2 separate regions of the Homo sapiens genome follow, and region 1 is linked to region 2. The links are contacts of gene promoters, found by promoter capture Hi-C in blood cells and fetal thymus (Javierre and others, 2016). All regions are on one chromosome and are shown on one strand. The core of a region is centred on a gene start or on the middle of the fragment in contact, and the rest is flanking DNA. Distances in the headings are between cores, read along the strand shown.

Evidence for each region. Contacts are between HindIII fragments. The CHiCAGO score rates a contact against its expected background, and 5 or more counts as called.
Region 1: a contact is called between a fragment that was not itself captured here and the fragment with the promoter of CCR2 in region 2, in 1 of 17 cell types (monocytes). The highest score is 5.2, in monocytes.

Annotation. Positions count from the first base shown.
Region 1 is chr3:46,113,694-46,120,808 of GRCh38, forward strand. No RefSeq gene overlaps it. Among named protein-coding and RNA genes, the nearest start is that of XCR1, 90 kb to the left of the region's middle. The HindIII fragment of the contact is 2,509 bases long and covers 3,929-6,437 here.
Region 2 is chr3:46,348,301-46,355,960 of GRCh38, forward strand. CCR2 (C-C motif chemokine receptor 2) reads left to right here and starts at 5,811. Exons shown (of 2, transcript NM_001123396.4): 1 at 5,811-5,877. RefSeq lists an enhancer at 1,928-2,077. The HindIII fragment of the contact is 10,451 bases long and covers 839-7,660 here.

The sequences.
Region 1 (7,115 bases), core at 3,933-6,432, 240 kb before region 2:
GCACTTGATAGGGACCTTCCCAGCTTGGGTGGAGCTTGTCTTCTTTTCAAGTCTTGATCAGCACCAAGTCGCCAGGCTGGAAGTGGTGAACTGCGAATTTAAGAGGTAGAGTTTGAGTCAGAAGTCCTTTTAACCTGAGGGATGACAGGGTGGAGGATGTGGCCAGTATGTAATTTCTTAAGAATTGATCCTTGGTTTCCATAGTAGGGAGATTTGTAGCTCTGCCTAAATATGGGACCCCATGTAATAACTCATAGGGGAACAATCCTAAGTCTTTTCTTGGGGCTGTTGTAATCCTAAGCAGTGTATTGGGAGACATTTAGTCCAAGACATTTTTGTTTCTAAGATTAGTTTGGTGATATGCTTTTTGAGAGTTTGATTCATTCTTTCTACCTTTCCAGAGGAAGGGGGACATTACGAGGTGTGATAATCCCATCTAATTTGTAAACCTTACATAATTCCCCTTAACATCCTTGAGGTAAAGTGGCTCCCATTGTTTGAATCAGTATTTTCCACCAGGCCAAATCTACGCACAATCTGTTTTAATATTATTTTGACCACATTCTTGGTGGTGGCTGTGGGAAGGGGGAAGGCTTCCACCCAGCCAGAAAGGTAATCTGTGATCACCAGTAAATACTTTAGTTTTCCTACTTTGGGCATTTCTGTGAAATCTACTTGAATGCTTTGAAATGGTCTTAGTCTGGGAGGTTTTCCTCCCATGGGCTGTTTTCTAATTACCTTTTTGTTTATCCTTTGACAAATTACACAACTTCCACATACTTGTTTAGTGAGGGTAAAATTCCTGTAGTATTGCATCACGGAGAGCCTGAGGTCCCCAGTGACTCCCTTTGTGTAATATAGACATTAGTTCTCTCATCAGGGTTTACTGATTGTTTCTCTCCCATCAGGAAGTACTCATTTCTTATTTTTAGTTTAAGTGACCCCTAGTCTGTCTAATTCTTCCTTCTCCTCTCTGGTAAACTGGGGCCTTAATACTACCTTAGGAATGTCTGGGATCCAGCTAAATAGTATAATATCTTCCTCCAGGGAGGCTTGCTTAGCAGCTTTATCTGCAAGCCTGTTTCCTGCAGCTTCTATAGTGTTCCCTTTCTGATGACCATTTACATAAACTATGGCTACTTTGCTGGAAGCAGGAGGCTTTTTACAACCTGTTTGGCCAGTTCCCCATGCACCAATTATTTTCCCCTGCTATTTATTAGGGCCTGCTTTGTTCAGATTTTTCTAAAAATGTGTACCACCCCATAAGCATATTTAGAATCAGTATGTATGGTGCCTTTTTGGCCTTTGAGTTTTAGGGCCTGGTTAAGAGCATATAATTCACAAGTTTGGGCCCACCAGCCATTAGGTAATCTACCCTTCTCACATAAGGAGTGTTTATTTTCATTAAGGACAGCATAACCATTATTTTTCTTGCCATCTATCATTGGGATGACCCATCCACAAACAGCCTTGTCCCATCATGTAGTGGAGCTTCCCTGAGGTCTGATTTAACTTTGGTTTGGTATTCTATGATATCTAACAGTTACAGTCTGATATCTCTTTGTTCTCCTCTCCTTTCCATAGGAAACTGGCTGGATTCAGGCAAGCATTTGTGGTTACAACCAAATCATCTTTTTCTAGTAATATGGCGTCATATTTTAGAAACTGAGAATCCGTTAACTATCTCCCGGCTTTTCAATTTGATACATTCCTGACCTGGTATGGAATGCTTACTATTAGGGCCCCACCAAAGGTTAGTTTTCAACTCTTTTCTACCAGCAGGGCTGTGGCAGCTACTGCTTGCACACATTCAGGCCACCCCTGAGAGACAGGATTGAGAAGCTTGGAGACAAAAGCAACAGGTTGCCTCTTCCCTCCCCAGATTTGAGTGAGCACTCCAAGGGCCATGCCCTGATCTACTGTGACGAACAGATGGAATAGTTTCTTTAAAGACAGAAGGGCCAGGGCCGGGGCTGTGATGAGGGCCTGCTTTAGCTCTTTTACTGCCTGAATTTCCTTTGGGGACCATTGCAAGGGATTGGGTTCCTCTTTAGTAACTTGAGATACAGAATCTCTGTCTTTTGAGCATATGAGTTCATCCATAACCTACAATAGCCAGTTAAACCTAAAAATTTTTGGAGGTTTCTCTTTGTCTAAGGCAAAGGCAGAGCCACTATCCTCGATATTTTCTTTGGGTTTATTTTCTACTTCCCTTCACTAATCAGGTCTCCTAAATATTTAACTTCTTTTTTTTACAAATGGCAATTTGTTCTTAGAGACTCGTAATCCCCTTTTTCCTAGGAAATTAAGCAAGTTTAGGGTGGTTTTTGATTCCTCGGGCCTCCTCTCCCCAGAAATTAAAAGATTATTTACATGTTGTAACATCTGGGTTCCCTCGGAAGGTTGGAATTCCTTCAGGACTTTTTCTAAGACTTTTTCAATTAAGTTTGAGGCTTCTGTGAAAACTTGTGGCAGCACAGTTTGGTGGTACTGTTGTTTTCTCCCAGTTATAGGAATTTCCCATTCAAAGGCAAAGAGGTCCCTACTCCTAAAGTCTAGGGGAAATGCCCAGAATGTGTCTTTTGGATCCACCACACTGAACCACTTATGTTTATAGGGTATCTTACTAAGGAGGGTGTAGGGTTTAGGCACCCTAGGGTGGTGGGTCTGGACAATTTGATTTACAGCCCTTAGATTTTGCAACAATTTATATGACCCACCAGATATTTTGACTGGGAGAATTGGAATATTGTATGGTGACCTGCAGGGTTCTAATAGTCCATCTTTTATCATTTTATTACTGCTTGGAGACCTTTTCTCCCTTCAATAGAAATGGGATATTGTTTTCTGCAAACTACTTTTCCTGGTTGTTTCTCATTCCATCCATCGATCTTTTGTAATTGTTTTATAATGTTAGGCCAGCTCTTAGTTACAAAGACCTTCAAAAGGCCTTGCCCTAATGGGTCCTCTGGATAGAATCCAGAGTGTTTTCTCATCTGATCTTTGAGCCTCTGTAGGAATGCAGAGGGAGTTTCTTCCTTTTTCTTGTTGAATCTTGAATGCCTTTGAAACATTTTGTGTCCTAGGAGTGGACTCTTTGATCCCTTTAATTATTAGTTCCCTGAAGTCTTGCATTCAGGCCTGGTGCCTGGGATCATTATTATCCCATTCGGGATTGACATTTGGAAATTTTTGTTTGGCTGGCAAGACTTCTTGCCTGGGAGGGTGTTGCCTCTCCCAGTTGGTTATGGTCACTCTCCTAATTATTCCCCTTTCTTCTCCTGTGAACAGGATATTCATAATAGACATCATTTCGGCCCAGGTGTAAAAGCTGGGTCTAGGAATTGGTCCAGCTGGTCTGCTAAACCGAGGGGATCTTCTAGGAGTGGTTTCATTTCCTTCTTGAAATTCCTAACATCAGTACTTATAAGAGGAGGATTTACAAAGCCAAGCTCTCCCAGTCCCATGGAAACTTCCCTAAGAGGGAACATGCTAGATGCTTGCTGTGCGGAAGGGATAGGGAAGTTCTCAGTAGTCCTCTTACACTGTTGTAATTGTTTTCTTAGATTTGGATAAGGATTTAAAGAAGTAGATGGTTTGGCTCCCCCATGGTTTCTAATCTTCCCCTAATCCCTTTGTTGCCCCTTGATCTTCCTGTCCCCTATTTTGTGAGACGTATGGAGGAGGCAAGCATGATAGGGGGGTCCCAGAGCTTTTACTAGGCTCTTTTTCTCCTTTCTTGAGGGGGAACATGGGAACTAATTCCTTGATCTGGCAGACAGCATAACCTATCTCTTCTTGTGAGGATGGGGTTTTATTATTTACATAGAGAATTAAAGCTCAGCACACCCAACACTTGTCTGAACCAAACTTAGGCCAAAAGACTGAAGGATTATGAATGGAGTCTTTGGGCCAGATAAAACAGCAAAGCTTTATTATCTTTTGCTTTTCCTTGTCCCTGGTTCAAGGGTTGTCCCTCAAAACCTGTAGCATTCTCCCCAAAGGACTATCCATGGGAATGTCAGAGGGAGTCTTTAGCTCCCTCTTTCCTTTGTCCCCTAGGCCTAGAATTTCTGTTTCCCATTTTCAGTCAGTCTCTGTGTCTGAGCGTTTCCCTGTGTACTCAACACTCCCTCCTGGAGGTTTCTTGCACACCCTGAGAATTACTTGCAGGAGAACGGAACTGCGGATTGGGACTCTGCACTCGCTTTGTATCTAGGATACATCTCAGTCACACATGCTCAACCTCCGAAAATGTCCAACCACCAAGGCAGTACTTATAGTCCAATTCTCCTACCTTGGCTTGTGCACCAGGTTACCTGGTTGTTGTGGTGCCTGCTTTTTTCCCTGTGTTGCCTCTGTTGCCTCCTGAATAACAGTCTCAGATTTGTCTAAGGCCTCTATGGGGAGCTGGGACACCCGGACAGAGTGGGCCTCCTAAATTGAGTGGGCTGCATCTCCCCTCTTGGCCAGAGTCCCACTCCATGCAAACACAGAGATCCCGGATGGATTCCCAAGTTTGTAAGAAACATATTCTCCCATCCAAACTCAAGGAAGATACTTGGAGATAGGAAGAACAGCAGAAGCGAGACTTTTAATGGCAGTCTTGCAAGATCAGGTGTCTGGTAGGCAGGCATACCCGGGGCAGTTACAGCAGGTAATTTATCTCCTAGCATGCAAGTCCCTCCCCCAGTTCCTCATTGGTTGAGTACTATGGGGTTACAATCTTTCCAGATATTGCCTAAGTTTCATTATCCCCTTTATAAGGTTATACTCTGGTCCCCTTCCCTGATTAAGTTTCCATTTCCCAATAATGAAACTTTCTTCCCTTTTATGGGCTGACCCCTCCTCTACATTCTGTTCATTTATTGTGACTTTCTAGGTGCATGAGCCATGTGGTTTATTACATTTGCAGGCTGGTTGCCAGTACTTAGAATTATCATGCCTTGAAAATGGACCATTTAAAATGATTTTTCACATACAGGGTCTTTTATATTTTGTTATCAAAGTTTCTCCATTTTGTTTTTCATATTTATGTACCATAATCAATCTGGGATTAATTTTTGTGTGTGTGTGAGTAGAAAACTAATGCATGTGTTAATTTTTTTCTGCATATTTGAATATTTGAAATATTTCATAATTAATATTAAAATCACTCTAATAAAAGTAATACTTGTTTATTATAGAAAAGTTAGAAAAATACAATAAAAATAAAAACAAAACTTCCCCTGTAATAACATAACTCAGCAACACTTTTAATGTTGTGAGGTGTTTCCTTCTGGTCTTTTTTTATTTTTTGGTAAAACTGAGATCAAACTGTTTTCCATTTTTATCACTTAGCATTGTCTTGTGTGTATTTCCTTGTATCATTTGAGTTCTACAAAATTATTTTTAATGATATATGTAGTTTATCATATAGGTGCATCATATTTTATTTAACCAGGAACTTACTGTTAGACACTTAGGCTTCCTCCAAGTTTTCAATGTAAATGTTAGTTGAGCATTGAATATTCTTGTACAAATATTTCTGATTTGTTTTTGAGGATAATTTCTAGAAATGAAGTTCTTGGGTCAAAAGGTATGAAAAATTTTAAGATCTAAGAATACAGTTAGAGAAAGATACCCTCTGGAAAGTGTGTGCCAATTTTAATCCCACCTTCTCCAGCGACGAATGAGCTGTTCCATCCTCCCATAGGCACCCTCCTGGCACTTTTGCTGAAATACATGAAGACTCCAACCTTAGCTGATTCATGTAGTCATAACAAGATCACATGCTGATGAGAATACAAAATCTGGAAAAAGCACATAGCAAGAAGAGAAGTCTGTAATGATTTATTAATATAGTAGCCTCGGTCCTCCTTATTAAATTTATTTGGCAAAAATTTGCCATTCTGCCCTGGGTGATACCCTGATACACTCAGCTCAAACCAAGAGCCAGGCATAGATGTTTAAGACATAAGAAGGACTCCAACTTAACTGGTGCTCAGGGCAAAAGAAGAACACACCAGGACATCTGCCCCTCTGGTTAGGAGAGGTCAGAGGGGGCCAGATCACTCGTTAAAACATTTCAGTGTCTGTTATGAGCCACTCATTGCATTGGAGGTGGGAACACAAAAATGACCAACCTTGACAGAAAATTACAATTTGGAACACTAAGGGCTCTTACAGGATCTAGCTTCAGGGCACTATGAAATCACAGGTAGGAGTGCTCCATGTAACCTGAGGATGTCAGGGATATAGTTTCCCAGACAAGGTATGTCTAGGCTGATCTTTGAAGAGGAAGAGGGCTTGGCCAGGCAGAGAGAAAAACAGGCATCCTACCTAACTAGCTATAGGGCAGACAGACTGTGGAGTAAAAGGTGAGGAGTGTGATGGAAGGGACTGGAGGAGGAACTGTATGAGAGAAGGCTGAAGGAGGAAGGGACTGGGTTATGAAAAGCTTCACGTGGCTTTCTATGGAGTTTATATTCTTTACAACACCGTATGTGTTCTGATCCCATCACCTTTCTGATCATATGTCCTATCCCTCCCCCATCCCAACCACTCTGCTCCAACCACATTGGTCTCCTTGCCATTCCCCAATCATGCTTCCACCTCAGGACCTTTGCACATGCTCTTCTCTCTGCCCAGAATGCTATCCCCCAGGTGTATGTTTGGCTTTCTTCCTCTCTTCCCTCAAATGTCTGCCTGATAGTATTACCTAAGCAGAGAGATTACGTCTGATAAACTTGGACAATATAGCATGCTGCTCTTGCCACCTACTCTGCTGTTCTCTGTCTTCTAACTCTGCTGTATTTTTCTTCTAGTATTTATTTTCTATCTTTGACCCTAACGTCTACTAGAATGAAAGCTCCATGGAGGTGGGGACTTTGCTTTTTTATTGCTTTACCAAATAGGATCTATTGAATAGTCTATTCCTTATGCCTAGAATAGTATCTGATGCATAGCAGATGCTTAATAAAAATTTGTTAAATATGCGAGTGAATTTTGTTATAAAGAGAATGAGGAGCCATTGAAGGTATTTTATGTTGGAGAAGGATCCTCAGATGTGTATTTTAGTCAGCTCTCTGTGCCTGTAGGGTGGAGGATGAGGCCAGTCAACCTGACCAGGAGGT
Region 2 (7,660 bases), core at 4,561-7,060:
TCCTCTTTCATTTTTTAAACGTTTGAGAAGGAGTGATATTAATTTTTCTTTAAATGTTTGGTAGAACTTACCAGTGAAGCCGTCTGGTTCTTAACATTTTTCTGTGTTGGGAGGTTTCTGATTACCAATTTGATCTCTTTAATTTTTACAGATCTTTTCAGATTTTCTATTTCTTCTTGAGTAACTTTTTAGCAATTTATGTATTTTAGAAATTTGTTCATTTAATCTAGGTTATTTAATTTATTGGTGTGCATTTTTTCATAGTATTATCTTATAATCTTTTAATTTTTGTAAAGTTGATAATGTCCCCACCTTACCTGATCTTAGTTATTTGTGTCTTCTCTGTATTCTTTTTGTCTTCTTCTTCTGTCTTAGCATAGCTAAAGGTTTGTCAACTTTGTTGATCTTTTAAAGAGTCAACTTTTGCTTTCAGCATGCATTACTTTTTAAATAGAAATATATACACCTAAGTTGCATTACAAAGGAGTTGTCCTCCACACACTTATTCTTTCCCACCATCAGAGGTTTATGGTCCCCGCAAAAGTCACCATCAGTTGGGCTCAACTCCAATCAGTCATGGTAGGTCAGGGTCCATCTCATTGTCTCCATCACTCATGCCCACCCAGGGTAAGTCTAATCATGTTCACCAATCAGAACCTCTGCCACATCAGCTCTGTGGGTTTCCTCTCATGCCATCTGTACCAACAATGAGCACAGTCTGGGTTTCCTGATGTTTTCTATAGCATGGTGCCCCTCCCTGGGACACCTCAGAAGCCACAATGATATTCATTAAACTTCTTCCTGCAAGTACTCCCTCTATTGCTCCTTCTACTCACCAAGCTTAGTGTCAGGGAATATGCTGGTGGGGAGTATGAATCTTAGCTTCTCACTCCCAGACTCGGCTCCCAACCTGCTGTTGCCAAGTCTTGGGGACATCTATAAATGCCTTCTAAATACCTGTCTTGGCCTATCCCCAGCCACAGATTCCTCCCTAGAGCAGGCTACCTCTGAGGCATCTATACTGAGATCTTAATCACAGAGACATTTAAAACATCTAGGCTACAAAAGAATTCCTACTATAGGGTTCAAATGAATTTCTTTCCGTCACTTGAGACAGCTTTTTAGCAAGTACATGTATTAAAGATTCTGATTTCCCCTTTTTTCTCCTACAGTTTGTTTGGCCTAAAGGTATGACATCTAATCTGCTGCATTTACACTCTAAGTCAAAATTACCATTTTGTTCTTTTAATTTCTATTTCTAATCATACATTCTTGTCTACTCCTGGTTCATCTGGAGACAAAGTTGAACTTAGAAGATGGAGGAGAAATTCTTATCTGCCCTCTGCTAGTTGACACTTCCTTTCCAAGAATCATTTGCAGTTGCTGGGCTTTCTTGCTGTGACTCTATGCCCTGTTGTGTTACTTTTTCATTTGTGACAAAAACAGTGGTAATAGTTTGCTTCATTTTTATTATGAAGACTTGACCAGGATAGGTAGGAACATAATTACTGCTTTTTCTGTGGGCATCATATTGGTCCAGATCATGTTTAACCAGAATTGAAGATGTAAAATCCTAGAACTCACTAATCTATTTTAGTAGGTCACAGGAAGCATGCAAACCATAAAAACCGCAATGAACCAAAAGCATCTGTGTTGACAAGAGGCAAGAATTTCTCTATTTTCTAAAGGCACTAACTGAACAAATCTATTGCCCATTACTTAGGAAATTGCTAAGGGCATCGTTAAAGTACTTCAGGCTGTTGAAAAACCTTTTCTGTCTTCTTGCCCCACCACCAATTCTCTCTAGCTATGCTTTCTCTCACATGTTCTTGCCATCCATGGAGTGGCAGAGAGGTTCTGAGTACAACTCTAACTTTCAGTTTCAATGGCCTAATCCCCAACTCAACTGCTGACCTTGAGTGTAAAAATAAACAAGATCTTAAACATCTTAGGGCCAGCATTCTGGGTCTTCTTTTGTTATTTGGGGAGCATAAACTATTCTCATATCATTGGCTTGCAGAAAAATTGAGCTTCTCCTCTTCCTTGCCCCATGTCACCTTGAGGTGACCACAGCCCTGCCTTCTATGTAATCCTGCTTGGTCAGCAGGCACATCAGAGCTCAGTGGCTTGTGACATACTTTCCTTCAAGCCTGCTCGAAGGGCCATACTCATCATTGAGACTGGGAACCTTAGAAACCATGAACCCAGTGCCAATGGGTAGATACAGAATTCTCAAACTCATGAAAAAACATCCTTTTTAACTCTCTCCGTGTGCATAAAGAATTCTAAGATGTACTGATCAAGATTCCCAATTTTCTAACTATCTATTAATATATGGACGAGGTAAGAAGAAAGTTGCAAGAAAAAAATTTGTTTGACTTGACGGTTGTGTGGTTATTTGCCACACTCCCCCAGATCCACTCTGAGTCCCAGGATGCTGATTTTAGGGGCTACATTGCCTAGACTGTCCATTATTCCCTCTTCCCATCTGGTTCAGTCACTGGGAAGCACTGGTAGGAGGTCAGAGTGGGAGAAGGAGGTTAGGATACTTTCTGCCCCTGCTGTCCTACTGCTTTGCTGAACTTCTAGCAGTGGCTGAGCCATCAACCTGCAGCTCTCAATTCCAGCTGTCTGTAGCACTCAAGTGGTATTGTTTATTCTTTTGATCCTTCTAGCTGTTAAGGAAGAAAAAAATAATTTTTTCCTCAATGCTCATAAGTTCTTGGAATGGACCCCTGTAACAAAAGACAGATTAACACGAGAAAAGTTTATTAACGTACATATTTTATACGTACATAGGAGCTATCCAGGGAATGAATAATTCTTAAAAAGGTGACTTTGAATTCCAGCTCATATAGCATCTTCAACAAAGTTCAGTAACATTTTAGAGATATGACAAGACAAAGAAAATGAACTTTGAGCCTCTAGGGACAGTGACTTGTAGGAAGGCAAAAGGAATAAATGGAGGTAAAGGCTGGTTAGTAATACTTGTTAATGAAGATTCCTCTGGTGCCATCTCCAGGTCCACAAGGATTTAAATTTGTCTTCAGTGGTGAACCTTTGTTCACCCTGGCAGAAGGTGTGGAGGGGGGTGCAGATCCGTTTTGTCTTTGTAAGTCTATATCCTGCTTTTAGACAAATAAAGGGAGGGAAAAGAGCTTTCCTTCATCTGCTTCTTAATTGCCTTCAGCTCAACAATCCTTATGCAAAAGAGGTACATTTTAGGGTGTCAAATTCTGGTCTCCCACAAAGCATAGGGATGACAGACCACCTCACCATCCCTGTTGCTTCTTTTAAGCCTGCTCACCCCTCCAAAAATATTTTCATTCTATACTGTCTCTTCAAAATCTCAGCGGAGGGTGCCCTCTGTTATCCTGCCCTCTGTGTCAGTATAAGCCAAAGGTTTGAATCCTGGCTCTGCAACTATCTACCTCTGTGCCTCTCCTTGTTTATGAAATTACAGGGCTGGAGACAAAGATCACAATGTGAAGACAAAATTGGAGAGCGGTCCTAATCAGCCAGAGCAAAATTTCTGGCTCTTGCTCTTCCCCATCCTGGGTTGAATCATAGGAACAGGTGGCAAGATGCCAGGGTCAGGAGATTCCAGAAGTGGCAGCAAGCTCAGTGTTACCAGGTCAGGGATGACCTGTCTTATTATTGAAATCTCAGAGATATGCTCCAATTCCGGCCCAGAGACACATTGAGAGACAACTGGGGAACTTGCTATGTTCCTGAACAGGCAATGAGCTGTCTTCCAAGAAAAAACCTGAGACCCTTCAAGTCTCAGGTCTTACTTAGCACATATACCAGGTCTTACACAGGACACATGGTTACAACTGACTGAAATCTGGGCTGGGTGTAGGAGCTCACACCTGTAATCCCAGCCCTTCAGGAGGCTGAGGCAGGCAGATTGCCTGAGCCCAGGAGTTCGAGACCAGCCCGGGCAACATGACAAAACCCCATCTCTACAAAAAATAGTCAGGCATGGTGGCATGCACCTGTAGTCTCAGCTACTTGGGAGGCTGAGATGAGAGGATTGCTTGAGGTTGAGACTGCAGTGAAGCATGATCATGCCACCGCACTCCAGCCTAGGCAACAGAGCAAGATCTTGTCGCAAAAGAAAGCAAAAACACAACATAACACAACAACAACAACAACAACAACAACAGCAAAAAAGCCAACTTCTTGAAATCTGGAAAGGACACCTGGACTGCCCTGAGCATTTGATTGTTGTTGGCTCTAGCAGTGGATGCATCCTTCAACCTCTGGCACTCTGCAGGGCTCAGACTGTTCTGTTCTGTTTGTTACCTGTGGAGTGCCTGCCAGACCCTGCTCTAGCTGCTTTAGGTCCATTTACCCTCATAGACCCCCAGTCTTGTTATTCATATTTCATATTTGGGAAATGGAAACTTAGAAACTTGCCAAGTCCACAGCATGAGATCCTGCCTCCGGTGTCTGCTGGATTCCAGAAAGTGCCAGGGGCCAACTTAGATGACACCATGTTCTCTGCACAATCTTAGGAATGCTCCTAGTCTGATGTCCCCATTGCAAAATTTACATTATCTTTTAACAAAACGTCTTTCCAAGGAGGGGCATTTAAAATAACTGAGGTTCTTCTTGCTAAGGACGTTCCTGACACAAGAGATAATTTAGCATTTCCTTTTCATTAAAAAGTTTGAAATCCTGTAATTTGTGATAATGTGGATGAACCTAGAGGATGTTAAGTGAAATAAGCCACACACAGATAGACAAATACCACGTGATCTCACTCTTATGTGGAATTTTTTTTTAAATAAGTTGCTTAGCCGGGCATGATGGCACACACCTGTAATCCTAGCTACTCAGGAGGCTGAGGTGGGAGGATGGCTTGAACTCAGAAGGTGGAGGTAGCAGTGAGCTGAGACTGTGCCAGTGCACTCCGGTCTGGGTGACAGAATGAAACCCAATTTAAAAAAAAAAAAAAAGTTGCTATCTTAGAAAAAGACAGTAGAGCAGTGGTTACCAGAGACTGGGGAGGAAAGAGAGGAGGTGAGAATGGGCAGCAGTTGATCAACGGGTACAAAGTTACCATGAGATAGGAGAAACAAGTGCTGGTGCTCTGCTCCAAGTAGGGTGACGGTAGTTAATAATGAATTCTGTATATATAAATAGCTAGAAGAGAGGGTTTTCAATATCATTATTATTTCAAAAGAAATGATAAATGTTTCAGAGGATGGATATGTAATTACCCTGATTTGATCATTGCACAATGTATACATGTAGCAAAACATCACATTGTGTCCCATAAATATATACAATTATTATGTGAATTAAATAAAAAAAAATTTTAAAGTCTTATCTAAATGAAATTTCTAACCAGATTCTGAATCCATGATACCACTGAAACCAGCACACATGATCGCAGTAAAACCTCATTATACTTCCTCCACTATCACCAATACCCTTTATTCTCTGGAACATGAAACATTCTGTTGTGCTCATATCATGCAAATTATCACTAGTAGGAGAGCAGAGAGTGGAAATGTTCCAGGTATAAAGACCCACAAGATAAAGAAGCTCAGAGTCGTTAGAAACAGGAGCAGATGTACAGGGTTTGCCTGACTCACACTCAAGGTTGCATAAGCAAGATTTCAAAATTAATCCTATTCTGGAGACCTCAACCCAATGTACAATGTTCCTGACTGGAAAAGAAGAACTATATTTTTCTGATTTTTTTTTTCAAATCTTTACCATTAGTTGCCCTGTATCTCCGCCTTCACTTTCTGCAGGAAACTTTATTTCCTACTTCTGCATGCCAAGTTTCTACCTCTAGATCTGTTTGGTTCAGTTGCTGAGAAGCCTGACATACCAGGACTGCCTGAGACAAGCCACAAGCTGGTGAGTTGTAGGCATTTTTTCCATTACTTTCTGATTCATAGGCTCAACGCACCTCAAAGCTGGAAATGCCGGGTCTGGGTACACCCTGGGGAACTGCAAAGCCTGCACACTTGGGGGGAATGATCAAGATGAGAGGCAGGGGTGGGGATGGCATGTGCACCAGGAGATGTTAGAGAAACCCTGAGGAAGAGCAGCGTGCAGCAGGTGATGGGGGAGAGTGGGCAGCAAGCGAGGCCAGGACAGCCACTCTGCTCAGTCACCAGTCCACACACCCAGGGGCTCACTCTGCCCCTCTGAGCACCCAAGGACGTTAAAGAGCTGGAACTGTTAGTCTAAATATAGGACCATCCAAGCTCTGAACCAAAATGTGTCCCTTGCCTCAACTCAGGAGATCCACAGAGGCAGAAGTAAGGAATTTATTTTCTGAAAGATAGATTTCTATCAGTTCTGGGTGACATGTTCTGACACTTGAAATGACACCTAGGACAGCACATTTCAGGCATCTTGCTCATTGTTCACTGTAGTAGAAGCTACATGCTAGCCAGTTGTAAAAATGAAATTAAGTAATGTGTGCACAGCATTTAACATAGCATCTGAGCTTCAGGAGCACTCAATTAATGACCACAGTTGTGATTCTTTAGGCAGATGCATTTTTTTCCAACTTTGATCAGAGGTCTTATTTAGCTTCTCCAGATTTCAAGAATCTGGCTCAGTGATATGAAATACAAGACTTGTGAAAAGTGTCAATTGCAAGAGAAATGGAAGGATAAAGTATACAGGTGGGTGGAAAAGAAATTCACAGTCACTGCCAGAAAAAAAATTCTTGAGAATCAAGTCCTGATGATGTTAGGGCTTATAGTTCTTATTATAAAGAGTTTTATGTACTCATTCAGTGAACATTTATTGGTGCCTCCTTTAGCCAGGTACTATCATAAGAGCTGAAAATAGAAGCATAATCCAGTCCTTGATCTTGAGGAACATGCTGTGTGTAGCAGATAACATAATAAGTGCTTATCTAGATGCATGCAGTGTTATGTGATAAGAGTAATATGACAGAGGATACAGATTAGGCTTCACAGAGAAGGGGGATTTGAGCAGGAGGTATTGAAGGGTGAATAGAAGCTCACCAATCATTTTGGGCAGAGGGGCAAGGACCTGCAAAACCACTGAAGCATGAAGGAAATGGTGAGTTTAGGGAAAATGAAGAGAAGATGGCTGTGACTGAAGCACAGGATTTGGGATTGGAGAAGGGACTGGAGGTGAGGCTGAAAAGAGGCAAACTCAGAAAAGATGTTGTGCTGGGCAGTCTGGACATTATCTTTGAAGCCCACCACATATAAGTCATAGGGCTACTGGAGGTTTTAAGCTAAGAGTGACTATTCAATTTCAACTTAAGAGAAGATAGGTTGAGAGGGAACATGGCTTGAGATGAGCCATGAGCAAAGGAAAGACTACAACAAAGCCAGGAGTGAGGAGTGTGTGAAGCAAGAAAGTGACAGTTGAAAGCAGTGCAGAGGGGATGAATCTGAGAGGCATCTATGAGGTGGAACTCAAATGACATGATAATAATACAGGGCATTTCTCTGTGTCAGATGCTGTCCTAAGTCCTTACTCCATTGATCTTCACAGCAACTCAGCATAGTTAATATTTTATGCATAAAGAAATCGGCACTTGAAGGAGTAATTGGCCCCAGATTACACTGCCTATAAGGATTCAAATCCAGGTTTGTTTGGCTCCAAAAACTGGCTCCTAATTTTCAGAAGGAGAAGCAACCCAGGGCAA